Regions from separate parts of the Homo sapiens genome. Here all the other regions are linked to region 1. Evidence: promoter capture Hi-C in 16 types of primary human blood cells and fetal thymus (Javierre and others, 2016). All regions are on one chromosome and are shown on one strand. Each heading gives the region's core, a stretch centred on a gene start or on the middle of the fragment in contact. The rest is flanking DNA. Distances are from core to core; before and after follow the strand shown. Region 1 holds the start of NAP1L2 (nucleosome assembly protein 1 like 2). Region 2 holds the start of CITED1 (Cbp/p300 interacting transactivator with Glu/Asp rich carboxy-terminal domain 1). Region 3 overlaps JPX (JPX transcript, XIST activator).

Region 1 (4,475 bases), core at 671-3,170:
TCTTGAAAACATTCTACTACTAAAACTCAAGGTCAAATTAATTAGTTTTTGAACTTTTCTTATATTTTTGAAACATATGTTTTAACTAACACTACAAGAAAAATACAGAACACAAGGCTTCTTATACCTTGAGTAACTATATCTAGGGCAGTTAATTTCAGGGCCATGTATACTCTGCTCTAACGATCAATGTCTTCTACTAATGCCTCAAGGTTTTTGCAACAAGCTTTAACTTCCTCAATTGCAGCCATCCAATTATCATAAATAATTTTGTCATAAATTGCATCATTAACTTCTCTAACTACCCCCTCCTGCTGAGATTCCAGTGCATCACCTGAGAAAAATAATACTGATCTTGGAATTATGTAAGTACGTAAATTGTGACCAAGTAAAAAATCATCATTTCCATCCCTTCCATTTGAGGTGATTCCATGAGGAGAGAAAAAATTGAAAAATGAATCCTTGGGAAAATCTTCAGTTACAGTTCGGATTGTTCCCCAGATCCGATGTTTCTGTTTCTTCTTGATGGTTTTCAAAGTGACATTCTTTCCTTCATTCCAATCTATCTCACAGCCTGTGGAATACTCAATCGCAGTTCCCCTATAGGGATGGGGATCATAATATGCTAGCTTTGACTTCAGCACATAGGTCTTTGTCAACAACTCATTTTTGAAATATTCATTGGGTTTGAAGTGAAATTCTAGTGTGAAACTGAGGGGCTCGCCAGGATCTGAAAGCTTAACTTTAATATCTGTCAGGAGCTTCAGAATAGGCTCATCATATTTCTTAATCAAAGGAGTGAGTGTATCAACGTTTTTTAAAACAGTTAGCCAAAAATCAGGAATTCCCTTAGGATCCTCCTCTTCTTTATTCTCTTCTCCAGTAGCCTCAATGTCGTCCTCCTCCTCCTCCTCCTCCTCCTCTTCCACAGCATAATCATAATAATAGTCCTCATAACCATCGTCCTCATCCACATATTCATGTACCATACCCTCCTCATTACCATACATCTCTTCATGACACATTTCCTCATCATCACAGTCCTCAGAGTCTGATTTATATTCACATTCCTCTTCTGTAGGTTCATAGATTGCATTGATGATCTGACGTCTTTTTTCCAGTAAGGGTTGGTACATTTCAGCAAACTTTCTTTCAATGTCATGAAATTCCCTCAGGAATTTGGATTCTAAATTGGCCGCTCTAGTTTGAAGCTTTTTAAGGGCTAACACACGGTACTTAACTTTCACAGGTAGACTTTCAACAAAGTCTGTATCTAAAACATAACCGATAAGTCCTTTTGGACGGTCTGCCTCTGAGTCCTCATCAGTATCGCCACCTTTTTTCCCATCTTCCCCGGACCCAGCAGCAGTATCTTCACCGTTTTCCCCTTCTTCCCCAAGCCCAGCGGCAGCTTCTTCACCGCACTTCCCATCGTCTCCAAGCCCAGCAGCGGCATCTTCACCGCGCTCCAGATGTTCCCCGAGCCCTTCCACCATTATCTGATTACCAGCCTCTTCTTGACTGGATTCTGACAGCTCCTTGCGGTTCTCTGACTCGGCCATTTTTCAAAGGACCGTACACGCCTAAGGTGGCTACCACAGAGATCGGGAGACCAAACCTCCACAGGAAAAGACTCACCGAAATATCAGAAGCGGCGGTGGTCGGACCTAGCAGTGGCGTCCGGACTGAGGGAACGACGATCCAGGCTGCTCGGGGATAAAAGATGGTGCTGAGGCTTTGAGAACCGGACTGAAGCAGTGGCGACCTGGGCTGGGTGCAGAGGGCGGCGACGGCTGCGTTGACCGATCCTGCAGGAGAGAGCCGGAGACTGCAGAGAGCTGCAGTGGGCAGACCTCCTCCGCAAGCAGCTACTGCTGCAAGAAAAAAACGGTGCCGCAGTATGATTACGCAGCTATCACTTGCCTAAAATTTCTAGGTGCAAATAGATTGCTGCGTCACCTCCTTCCCTCCCACAACTATGCTCTAATCTCATTTGCTGCAATGTAGTGACTGACAAACCCAGAGCCAGTAAATTATTAGATCTATCAAGTTTTCAACTCTGCTCACCTTCCCAGGCTCTCTAACATGGCTGATTCATCCACCTCCTCCTCGTCCTCTAGCCCATCTCCCGCAGAGTTTTCTGGAATCCCATTGCGTTCATTAGTTCATTCATCCAACTTTTAACAGATATTATACTTTTATGCTTTCCAGAGAGCTCAGAGAAAACGTAACTAAAATGTCGAACAATGAGAGAAGACAAGGCACCCACCCATCCTAAATCAATCTCTTTGATTTTAGATCGGGGACCTGGGGAGGGGAGAGGTGGATGGTGGAAGAGCTGATAAACAAACGCTTCAAAGATTAAAAACACCAGGAATTAGCACTGATGGTCTTTAGGTGGCGTGTCAGTTATTTAAATATTCTATATTATGTTTGTCGGTATTTTTCACAAGCTATATGATTTTAGGTTGAAAAATTCTCGAAACATTTCCTGTGAGGGGAGGAGGAGGAAGTCCGATGGCAGTGGGGGCGAATGAGGGCCTGTGATGAAAAACTAGTATGGTGTATACAACTACGTGACTAGTAAACATACCAGACAATTAACCACAATTAACCAGTTGCCTGGCTTATAAATAACCCCAGTCCCAATACTGACTTTCTGCTTCTCCTTCTTAATGCTGGCTTTAACAGCCGTTAGAAATATACATATATACAAAAGCCAAAATGGAAAGTTATGTTTATTCTTAGAAATCATAACATTTGCTTGATGCTTTTGAGTTAATTGGAAATAATCTAAATCTCAGCATTAAAGAAATGGTTAAACTATTTGATAATGTATTTATAGGATGGAAAGCTTTGCAGTAATTAAAATTTCCTCTCTATAGTAATTATTGGTGAGGTTTATTTTGTTCATATTTCTAACTTGGATCATTTATTAATTGAACAATTTTTTAAAATTTTAAGTGACTATTATTTTCCAGATTTAAAGAATTTGTTACTATCACAGATATTAAAACTGTTTACATATTGTTGTATTTATTTCTAAATTCTGTCAGTTTATAGATAAATTTTTCCTTTAAGTGAAAATACCAGATACAAAAGAACAAATATTGTATGATTCTACTTTAATTAGGTATCTAGAGCAGTCAAATTCACAGAGACAGAAAGTAGAAACATGGTTTTCAGAGGCTTGGGGTAGGGAGGAAAGGAAGTTATTGTTCAATGTGTATGGAGTTTCAGTTCAAGAAAAAGAAAATATTCTGGAGATGTATGGTGATGATGGTTCACAGCAGTGTGATTGTACTTAATGCTCCTGAAATGTAGATTTAAAAATAGGTAAAATGGTAAATATTATGTTATGTATATTTTATCATAATATAAAGTGTAGAGAAAAATATTTTAAAGACCATATTCAATATAGTACTGGAAGTCCTACCCAGAGCAATTTTGCAAGAGAAAAAAATAAAGGACATACATATTGGAAAGGAAGTTGCTAATTTATATCCTTGTTCAAAGAAGACATGATCTTATATTTAGAAAAACCTAAAGACTCCACAAAAAAACTGTTAGAACTAACAAATTAAGTAAGTTTGCATGAAGCAAAATCAACACACATAAATTAGTAGCATTTCTGTACACCAGCAGCAGACAATTTGAAAAAATCAAGAAAACAATCCCATTTACAATAGCTACAAGAAAATAATACATCTAGGAATAAATTTAACCAAAGAAGTGAAAGATCTACGCAATAAAAACTATAAAAACACTAATGAAAGAGATGAAGAGAACCCCAAAATGGAAAGATATCCTATGCTTATGGATTAGAAGAATCAATATTGTTAAAATGTTTATACTACCCAAAGAAATCTACATATTCAATGCAATCTCTATCAAAATACCAATGACATTCTTCACAGAAACAGAAAACAATATCCTAAAACTTTTATGAAACTACAAAAGATCCCAAATAGCCAAAATGATCCTGAGCAAAAAGGACAAAGCTGGAGGCATCACACTGCCTGATGACAAAATGTACTACAAAGCTGCATGGTACTGTCATAAATACAGACGCAAAAAACCAATGGAACAGAATAGAGAACCCAGAAATAAACCCACACATTTACAGCCAACTCATTTGCAACAAAGTCACCGAAAACATACATTAGGGAAATGACAGACTCTTCAATAAATGATGCTGGGAAAGCTGGATATTTGTATGAGAAAGAATAAAACTGGACCCCTATCTCTCACCGTATACAGAAATCAAATAAAAATGAACTAAAGACTTAAATGTAAGACCTGAAACTATGAAACTACTAGACAAAACTGGGAAGATGCTTTAGGACATTGGTCTGAGCAAATATTTTCTTTTTAAGCCCTCGAAAGCACAGGCAACAAAAGCAAAAGTAGACAAATGGGAACACGTTAAGCTAAAAAGCTTCTGCACAGCAAAGAAAACAATAGGGTAAAGAGAC
Region 2 (4,475 bases), core at 1,117-3,616, 910 kb before region 1:
TTTCCTCCATGTCTCAAGCCCCCTCCAAGACAGCCCCAGCATTGGGCTTTCCTAGGATGCCTACCCCAGAAACCTGAGTCCAGCCATTCCCATCTATAGTGACAAGTGAGGCACAGAGATTCAATGCCTTTTTAGTCAGGTAGCAGCGGTTCTGGGAGCAGAATCTAGCACCCCTATGGCCACATGCCTCACCTGACCACTGGCTAAGTCATCATACCTAGCTGGATTCAAAAGGCTTCCAAAGAAGTGATTTCCTGGCTCAAGTGCCAAAGGATAAGGGAATGAAGGCAAAAGAATACCTCCAAACCAGAAAATAAACAAACCTCTGAAAATCTCAACTTATTTTCCTGGAGGCCTGTTTACAAAGAAGAAAAAAATGTCCCATAGCTAGGCACAGTAGCACCCTCCTGTAGTCTCAGCTACTCAGGAAGCTGAGGTGGGAGGATCACCTGAGCCCTGGAGTTTGATACCAGGCTGGGCAACATAGCGGGACCCTATCTCTTTAAAAAAAAAAAGCCCCATATATTCTAGCTTTCATGATCAATTAGAGATGTAGAATTTCATATTTATAAATACCTCTTGGTCCAAAGAATCTTGAGGACCTTAAAAAGAGTCTCTAATCTTTCCAAGGAGGCTAGAATTCTCCGTGACACTCTCCACTCCGCAGCGGTCATTAAGAATCTGCTCAGACACTTCTAGAAAGTGGCCACTTACTACCTCTCTGTATCATCTTTGCATTGCTTACTTGGGTGGATGGGGGTAGGGGAGGGAAAAAATAGAGAAAGGGGTAAACATTTTTTTAAAAACATGAGGAAAAAATATCAGCTGTTGGGTCCCGCATCATTGCTTGATTGAAGCCCTGCTCCTTCTCTGAGGCAACCGTAGAAAAATATTTCAAAAGCAAGTGATCACCAGACAAGAAGTCTAACACATGTCGTCTTCAAGAGCCCTAGCACAATCAGTATCAGACAATTTTCCTGTCCTAAGAAAAATGTCTGGGGGCCCTGTCCATCTTTTCCTGTTCCTATCCAGCCTTCCCTCTCCTTTTTGCCGCTTGGTACCCGAATGTACAAAACGAAGAAAAAACAACAGGAGCAGCAGCAACAACAGCAAAACCAAAAGAGAAACATTAGAAAAATCAAAAGAGAGAACGAGCAAAAAAACTCTCTCTATTCTGATATCAGTTCGTGGGGGAAGACCATTTTACCGCGCCTCCCTCTTCAATCTGGGAGCTCCCCCAGAAGAGGCCCTGTGTCCATTCAGATCTTCTGCCTTCCATTACTGACCCACCACCCACCCTGACCCCAGCCTGGGTCTGCGCTCAATAGGCGCTCAGTAAGTGTTGTTGAATGCGTCTGAAGAAGCAATCGCATTTCCATCGGCATCCCTGGCTCTGCTTCCCCGGCTTTCTGCCCTCCTCCACCACCCTCTAGCCCGTTCGTGGGCAAAACTTGGCAACGCGGAAACGTCCCAGCCCGCTCTCCAAGCCGCGAGCTGACCACTGCGAAACGGCTGCGACAGGCGGCTGGGAAACCTAGAGCAACAAGTGCCTTCTCGCCGGCTGATGCCTGGCGGCCCCCCGGCCACCAGTTCCCAGTCCCGCTGCCCGCTCTTCGCTTCAGGCCTTCCCTTGGGCGAGCAGCCCCCTCCCGCCTAGACAGGGGTGGGAAGGGGAGAGGGAAAAGAGAAGGGAGAGGCAGGTGGGGGCCTCATCTTTAACCTGTTGGGGGACCAAAAGTTAAAATGGCACCAACCGGATGGTTCCATCTCGATTGCTATTTTCTCACTCAGAAGGAGAAATTTAAAAATCCAAACAGCACTGCGGCTTGGCTTGGACGCGCTCTAACCAGACCAGTCAGTTTCGCCACCTGAAAACTAAAGGCCCGTTGTTTGCGGACAGCTCGGCTGCCCTCCTCGCCGCATCCCAGATGGAGCCGCGGAACCGGGGGCGGCCGGGAGCATCCCTTGCACGGCGGGCGCGTGCACCCAGGCCACCGGGGCCCTGAGCGTCCGTTCCCGCAAGTGCTGTATCAGGAACTGATCTTAGAGACAGGATGGACAGGCAGGAAGGGGCACGGGGTGTCGGCCTCCGCGGCGAGTCCGCACTCCGGCGCCGGCTGCTGCCACTCTCGCGCCTGATCAACACTTACTGAGCGCCCGCTGAGCATCCGACGCGGCAGCAGGCTGAGCCTACCCCCTAGCCAAGCCGCCTGCGGTCAGTGCTAAAACCCCGCTAGGAGAAGAGTGAGAGAGGCTCGGAGAGGTGCGGTAACTTGCCCAAGGTCACAGCGCTAGAAAGTGGCGGAGCCGGGATTCGCAGCCAGGTCTCTCTGACTCCAAGTCCGGTGCTCTGCGAAGCAGGGACTCGGCGCGCGGCTCGCCAGCCCGCGTTTATAGGGAGAGGGGTGTGCGCGTGGGTGTGTGTGTGTGGGCGTGTGTCGGGGGAGGGGAGGGCTGAGGTCGACTGGGCAGTAGAGGCAAGTTGCCCAAATTCGCTAACTTCCATCCCGCAATTCCGCTGAACTCGGCCCGAAAAGCCCCCTCTTGCCTCAATTCCCCGAAGTAAATCTGAGCTTTGTGCAGCTCCGGAGCCAGAGCGTCCAGATGCGGTCCGGGAGATTAGCAAAGTCGGTGGAAGCCAAGCTGGAGAAAGCGCGGGCGCAGGGAGAAAAGGTGCTGCCGTCTCCCCGGGAGAAGCGGGCACCCGGCCCCGCTGGCCGGCAGGGGGGCGCGCTGGCAAGCGAACCCGAGCGCTGGCGGGCGGGCGGGCGGGCGGCCCCTCGCCCCCAGCAGAGCAGCTTTCCAACAGAAAGCAAGTCTCCCCAGAACCCTCCGGCCCGCCTGGCGGCCGCCCACTCCCCATACCCGCTCCACGGGAGTCCTCGGCCCCGCCGCCCAGCCCGGCGCCCAGCCCGGCGGCCCGGCTTACCTCTGAGAAGCCGCCTGCCCTGGAGAGAGGGAAGCGCGGAGCTCGGTGAGCCGCAAGAGAGGCGGCGGAGCCCCCAGCCCCTGGCACGCACGCCGCCGCCACCGCTACCGCGAACCGGTCGCGCTCAGCGCCCGCGGCCGCGCCGTTGGCCACCCGACCCCGGGGCGCCTGGGAAAAGCCCGCACCGCGCCGCGCCGCCGCTGCACCGCACAGTGCCGCGCCAAGCAGCCCCTGACCGAGCTGGTGCCCGCCCGCCCGCCCGCAGCTTCGGCGCCGGACTCCGGGGCGGTGGCGGTGGCGGCCACCGCGCTCCCTTCCCGGCGCTGGGGACCCGGCTCTCAAGCCCCCATTGCCGCCCGGAGAGCCCTGACGCACACGCACACGGCAGCAGACTGGCCTCGGCTAGGAATCCCAGGAAGGACAGACCCTTTTTTTCCCTTTTTTTTTCTCCCCTCAATTTCCACGTCTTTATAACCGGCTTAGGGCATTATTAGCACATGTCCTGGCTCGTGGGCGAGTTGGTGGCAAAATCTGAACTGGATACTCACGGAGGGCCCGCGCGGGTGCTGTGCCGTCCGCTGCTCTCTTCCTCCTCACCGAGAACTGCCCCTCGCCGGCGGACTACAAGAGGGCAGCCGGGCAGAGCGAGCTTCCTCTCGGCAGCTCAGCGGTGCCCCTTCTGCAGCTTTGCCGCCGGGCACATTTTTATAGCAGCGGCTGGCGTCTGTGGCCCTTTAAAGGCGCTCGAGCTGGTGCAGTCACCGCGGATCGTGTGAAAGCAAAGGGCCGGCTGGGGAACGGAGTCCACGCGGCCACGCGAGTCCGGCAGCCCTGTGGACCGGCCAAGGCTCCCGGGGTGGGGCTGGCGAGTCCGGGCTATGGGCAGCCCTCGCCCGGAGCCCTGGCCAGTGCCCGGCTTCTAAAGCTGTCGGGGGCCAGGGCCCGGGACACCGGCTCTCCCCACCGCCCTGCGTGGACTTGCCCAATAAATTCCACTTAGTAATTTCACTGAGGCAAAGGAGAGCCGTTAGTGTCTGTTTTCTGACCTAAATCTAGTCGGGGGCCAAAACGGGCTTCAGGGGTTTTGGGAGAGAGCTGTGGGCTCAAGGAGTGACCTGGAAGAGCGGGGCGCACACGAGACGGGGGAATGGTCATTAGTTTTCTGCAGGGCTGTCTTGGAGCCTGTCTGCCTTTTGGGGGGGCTGTACTATCTCATTCGTTGAAGAGCTGAGGCTGGGGGCTCCTTTTCCTCTTAAAGTCGCCAGATTCTGGGCAGAGTCGCATGGGGGGCCTATATGGCAGCGGTGGCTCTTCTAGAAGTTCTGAGCTGGGGTTGGGTTCGAGGGTTTCTGTTCTGTGGTCATCCAGGGCAGGAGGCTGGCAGGATGCGACCCGGAGAAATGCTACTCTCCCGGACCGTGGGGCCAGGTACAGCTCACTAGGCTCGCCGAAAAGCCAACAGTAGGCAACGGGGTACGAAGAGCTTGCCCCAGGGTTCGCGGAGATTCCTCCTGCCTTCCCACGATGTCAGGTTGTTTTATTGTAA
Region 3 (4,475 bases), core at 760-3,259, 760 kb after region 1:
ACCACATGGTTAATTCTAGTCATATCTCCTTGTTTGTCTGTCCTCACTCTCTCACTCCAATAGGAAAGAGCCTGTCTCCTAACATTTACCATTCATTTACATAATTGTACTATCCCATTATACAGGTATAACTGTTTCAGAATTGTTGATTTTTACCCTTACTGGAAACAACTCTATCAACTGGAGTATAATGCTTATGTATAGCTTCTTTTGCATTTAGTCTTACAGACTCCACTTATTAATGGTGAGAGACTGGACATACTGCTCAGATCGGGAACAATGCAAAGATGTCCTCTCTCACCACTCCTAATACAAGAAAAGGAAATATAGACTGGAAGGGAAAAAATAAATCTTTATTTGTAGATTATAAGATTGTCTACATAGACGTTTTTAGAGCATCTCCAGAAACCTAGAACTAACAAATGGGAGTAAGAAGGACACAAGGTATTACAGTTACTTTTCATTTTCTGTTAGTTTTGGCATCTCATATTTAAGTCTGGTTTTCAAGATTGCATTCTTTTCAGATGGTATTTTTTTCTTTGTTTTTGTATACATTATAATGTTGAGAGTCAAACATATAAAGTAGTAGATACTGAGGTATATATATGTATTTTCTTTGCGATAAGCACACCTTTCCTTCATCTAGGCTATTAGCGTGGAGGTTTTTGTGAAATTAGTCAGGAGTTGGTCTGGGATTGAAGTTTTGTTGTTACCATGGTTACTCTCTGTGTATCAGAAACTTCAAACCCTATAATGATACCTTGTTTTTGTGTCCTTGTTTGGCGTGGGTTTTCACCTTTTCACTCTTCTCTAGAGAAGGCCTGTGGTTTTCAGCTTTCCCCTGTGCATTACTTTAATTTTATTTGATGTTTAGTCTGTGGTTGGGGCGAAAAAGAGGCATGTTCTCTAATGTTCTAATTTAAACTCAGTCTTAAGTAGGCACTGTGAATCTGGGTCTTGTGGGTGTGGCTGTCATAAGTCTTTCTTTTCCAGTCAATGCCTAGTATTTATTCCCATTCCTCCCCTATGGCTAAAGCTTTATGTGTTCCTTACCTCCTTACCCAGCCCCTGTTGCTTCCACTCCAGGGTGTCCCTGCAAATTGCTCTAAGGTTTTTGCTTCTTAGGCGAGATAGGAGACGGGCCTCTGGGGAATTTTGGTCTGCTTTATATTCCCTTCCACTGCTTCATGATCTTTTCTGTAAATGAAGAACTTTTTTTGGTGGGGCGTGGTGGTTCACGCCTGTAATCCCATCACTTTGGGAGGCCGAGGCGGGCGGATCACCTGAGGTCAGGAGTTTGAGACCAGCCTGACCAACATGGAGAAACCCTGTCTCTACTTAAAATACAAAATTAGCTGGGTGTGGTGGTGCATGCCTGTAATCCCAGCTACTCAGAAGGCTGAGGCAGGAGAGTCACTTGAACCCGGGAGGTGGAGGTTGCGGTGAGCCGAGATCGCGCCATTGCACTCCAGCCTGGGCAACAAGAGCGAAACTTTTTTTTTTTTTAAGAAAGGTAGATTGGGGCAGATTTTCAGCCATAGCTGCTACTCCTTTCCCCCAGATAGTACCAAAGGGGTCTTTCTCTGTGATCTCTGATCTTTCCTGTGGCTTCCTATTGATAACAGCTGCAGGTGGCTGCAACCCCACCCCCATATTTGAAACCTGAGGGGATTCCTATTCTCAGGCCAGCCCACACTTGGCCTTTAGCAATTTATTGTAATTTCTAGTTAAATCTTTCTACCTGCTTTTATATTGATTTTCATGGCATTTGTCCCAGTAATCAAATGCTCAGATTCTGTTTTCCCCTGCAGGCACCTACCATTTTTTTAGATTTCTGTATTTTTTTTTTTCCTGTAACTTCAGTTCTCTGATAGGGTCAAGAAAATCATAACTTTGCTTTTGTCAAGCCTTTTCTAAGTGAGGTAGTGATGTTGTTTCTAGTGCCCTATATATTTGAGATTTGTTGTCTTTGTTATTTTTGTTTATTTCTGTTTCTTATTTTTTCTTCTGTATCATTTGAACATTTTTTAGTATTTTATTTTATTTATTTATTTTTTTTTGAGATGGAGTTTCGCTCTTGTCGCCCAGGCTGGAATGCAGTGGTGTGATCCCAGCTCACTGCAACCTCCGCCTCCCGGGTTCAAGCGATTCTCCTGCCTCAGACTCCCAAGTAGCTGGGGTTACAGGTGCCCGCCACTATGCCTGGCTCATTATTTTTATGTTCAGTAGAGACGGGGTTTCACCATGTTGGTCAGGCTTGTTTTGAACTCCTGACCTCAGGTGATCCACCTGCCTTGGCCTCCCAAAGTGCTGGGATTACAGGCGTGAGCCACCGCGCCCAGGCTTTAATATTCCATTTTAATTATCTTTATTTATTTATTTATTTTGAGACAGAGTCTCGCTCTGTTGCTCAGGCTGGAGTGCAAATGGCACAATCTCAGCTCACTGCAACCCCCGCCTCCTGGGTTCAAGCACTTCTTCTGCCTCAGGCTCATGAGTAGCTGAGACTAACTACAGGTGCATGCCATCACGCCCAGCTAATTTTTGTATTTTCAGTAGAGGCAGGGTTTTGCTATGTTGGCCAGGGTAGTCTCGAACTCCTGACCTCAGGTAATCTGCCTGCCTCGGCCTCCCAAAGTGCTGGGATTATAGGCATGAGCCACCGTGCCCGGTCTTAATTATCTTTTATACATTCGAATTGTCTCATAAATACATATCTAACAGTTTATGTAGATTCAGTGTTTTACCACTTCAGGTAAAACATAGAAGCCTTACATCCATATAAAGCTCTTTATACTCCCTCACTGATTCTTTAAGTAGTTGCCATGTGTTTTACATTTGCATTGTGTTTCTGCTTTCAGGAGTCATACATATTTTAAAGAACTTAAGAGGAGAAAAATAGTCTTTTATATTTACTCAGTAATTTACCACTTCTTTTTTTTTTTTTTAAACCAGTTCTTTGTTCTCTCATTTTTAAAGATCTAAGCTTTCCCTGGGTATCATTTCCCTTCAGACTAAAGAACTCCCTTTATCATTTAATCAGCACTCTGCTTGAGGTGAATTGTCTTAATTTCCCTTCATCTAGGAATGTGTTCATTTCACCTTCATTCCTGAAAGACATTTTCAATCACTGGATATAGAATTGTTAATTGATGGGATTTTTTTCTTGTTGCTCTTTAAAGTTATTTTTCTACTACTGTCCTTCATCGTTTCTGATAAAAAATTTGCCGTCGTTTGAATCATTGCTTCCTCAGATGTAATGTGCTGTTTTTTTAATAGCTGCTTTCAAATTTTTTCCTTTGTCTTTGATTTTCAACAGTTTATAGTATTTCTGGGTGTGTCTTTTCAGTTTATATTGTTTGGTTTTGCTGAAGTTGTTTAATATGTAGATTTATCTTTTATCAGATTGGGAAGTTTTTGGCTGTTATTTCTACAAACTTTTTTTCTGCATGATTTTTTTTTCTCATTCTGAGACTATGATGACATGTATATTAGATATTGTGATATTGTTCCATAGGTCCTGAGGTGCTGTTTGTTCTGTTTCAATCTATTTTTTATTTATTTATTTATTTTATTATTTTTTTTGAGACGGAGTCTTGCTCTGTCGCCCAGGCTGGAGTGCAGTGGCATGATCTCAGCTTACTGCAAGCTCCGCCTCTCGGGTTCACGCCATTCTCCTGCCTCAGCCTCCCAAGTAGCTGGGAGTACAGGCACCTGCCACCATGCCCAGCTAATTTTTTTGTATTTTTAGTAGAGACGGGGTTTCACCATGTTAGCCAGGATGGTCTTGATCTCCTGACCTCGTGATCCGCCCGCCTCAGCCTCCCAAAGTGCTGGGATTACAGGCTTGAGCCACCGCGCCTGGCTCAATCTATTTTTTAATTCTATTTTTCAGATTGGGTAATTTCTGTTGATCTGTCTTCAAATTCTGTTTCATGTTCCTGGCTGCATTCTGTTATTGAGATCTTCAGTGGATATTTTTTATTGTGAATGTTGTATGTTTTCATTAAAAAAACTCAATTTGGTTCTTTAAGTGTTATTAAGGTATAATATCATACCATAAAATTATCTATTGTAAGTATACAATTCACCTAGTTTTAGTAAACTTATGGCTTGAAGTTGTCATCATAATCCAGTTTAGAACATTTCATTATTTCCAAAAGTTTCCTCAAGTCACTTCTGCTCCCATCCCAGGCTACCGTGATATCCTCTGTCTGTAAGTTTACCCTTTCTAGACATTTCATGTAAATGAAATCGTACGATATTTATTCCGTTGAATCTGACCTCCTTCATTTATTAAAATGTTTCTGAGATTTAGTCATGTGGTAGCATTAATAAGTATTTCATTCCTTTTTAGAGCTGAATGTTGTTCAGTTTTACTAATGTCACATTTTGTTTCTCCATGCAGCACTTGACTGAAAGTTGGATTGTTTCCTTTTTTTGGTGGTGGGGGGGGGCTATTATGATGAATAAAC

What was found. Contacts are between HindIII fragments. The CHiCAGO score rates a contact against its expected background, and 5 or more counts as called.
Region 2: the fragment with the promoter of CITED1 here is called in contact with the fragment with the promoter of NAP1L2 in region 1 in 4 of 17 cell types (non-activated CD4 T cells, naive CD8 T cells, activated CD4 T cells and 1 more); the score reaches 7.8 in non-activated CD4 T cells.
Region 3: a fragment that was not itself captured here is called in contact with the fragment with the promoter of NAP1L2 in region 1 in 1 of 17 cell types (naive CD4 T cells); the score reaches 5.2 in naive CD4 T cells.

The regions. Positions count from the first base shown.
Region 1 is chrX:73,212,931-73,217,405 of GRCh38, forward strand. It overlaps NAP1L2 (nucleosome assembly protein 1 like 2), which reads right to left and starts at 1,921. Exons shown (of 1, transcript NM_021963.4): 1 at 1-1,921. The coding sequence starts at 1,562. The coding sequence ends at 180. The HindIII fragment of the contact is 1,643 bases long and covers 1,210-2,852 here.
Region 2 is chrX:72,303,548-72,308,022 of GRCh38, forward strand. CITED1 (Cbp/p300 interacting transactivator with Glu/Asp rich carboxy-terminal domain 1) reads right to left here and starts at 2,367. Exons shown (of 3, transcript NM_001144887.2): 1 at 2,278-2,367. It overlaps LOC105373250 (a long non-coding RNA gene), which reads left to right and starts at 2,555. Exons shown (of 3, transcript XR_938441.2): 1 at 2,555-2,673. RefSeq lists a silencer at 3,352-3,646 and an enhancer at 3,373-3,422. The HindIII fragment of the contact is 8,247 bases long and covers 1-4,475 here.
Region 3 is chrX:73,976,900-73,981,374 of GRCh38, forward strand. All of the region lies in intron 2 of JPX (JPX transcript, XIST activator), which reads left to right. Among named protein-coding and RNA genes, the nearest start is that of JPX, 35 kb to the left of the region's middle. RefSeq lists an enhancer at 691-1,250. The HindIII fragment of the contact is 1,950 bases long and covers 1,035-2,984 here.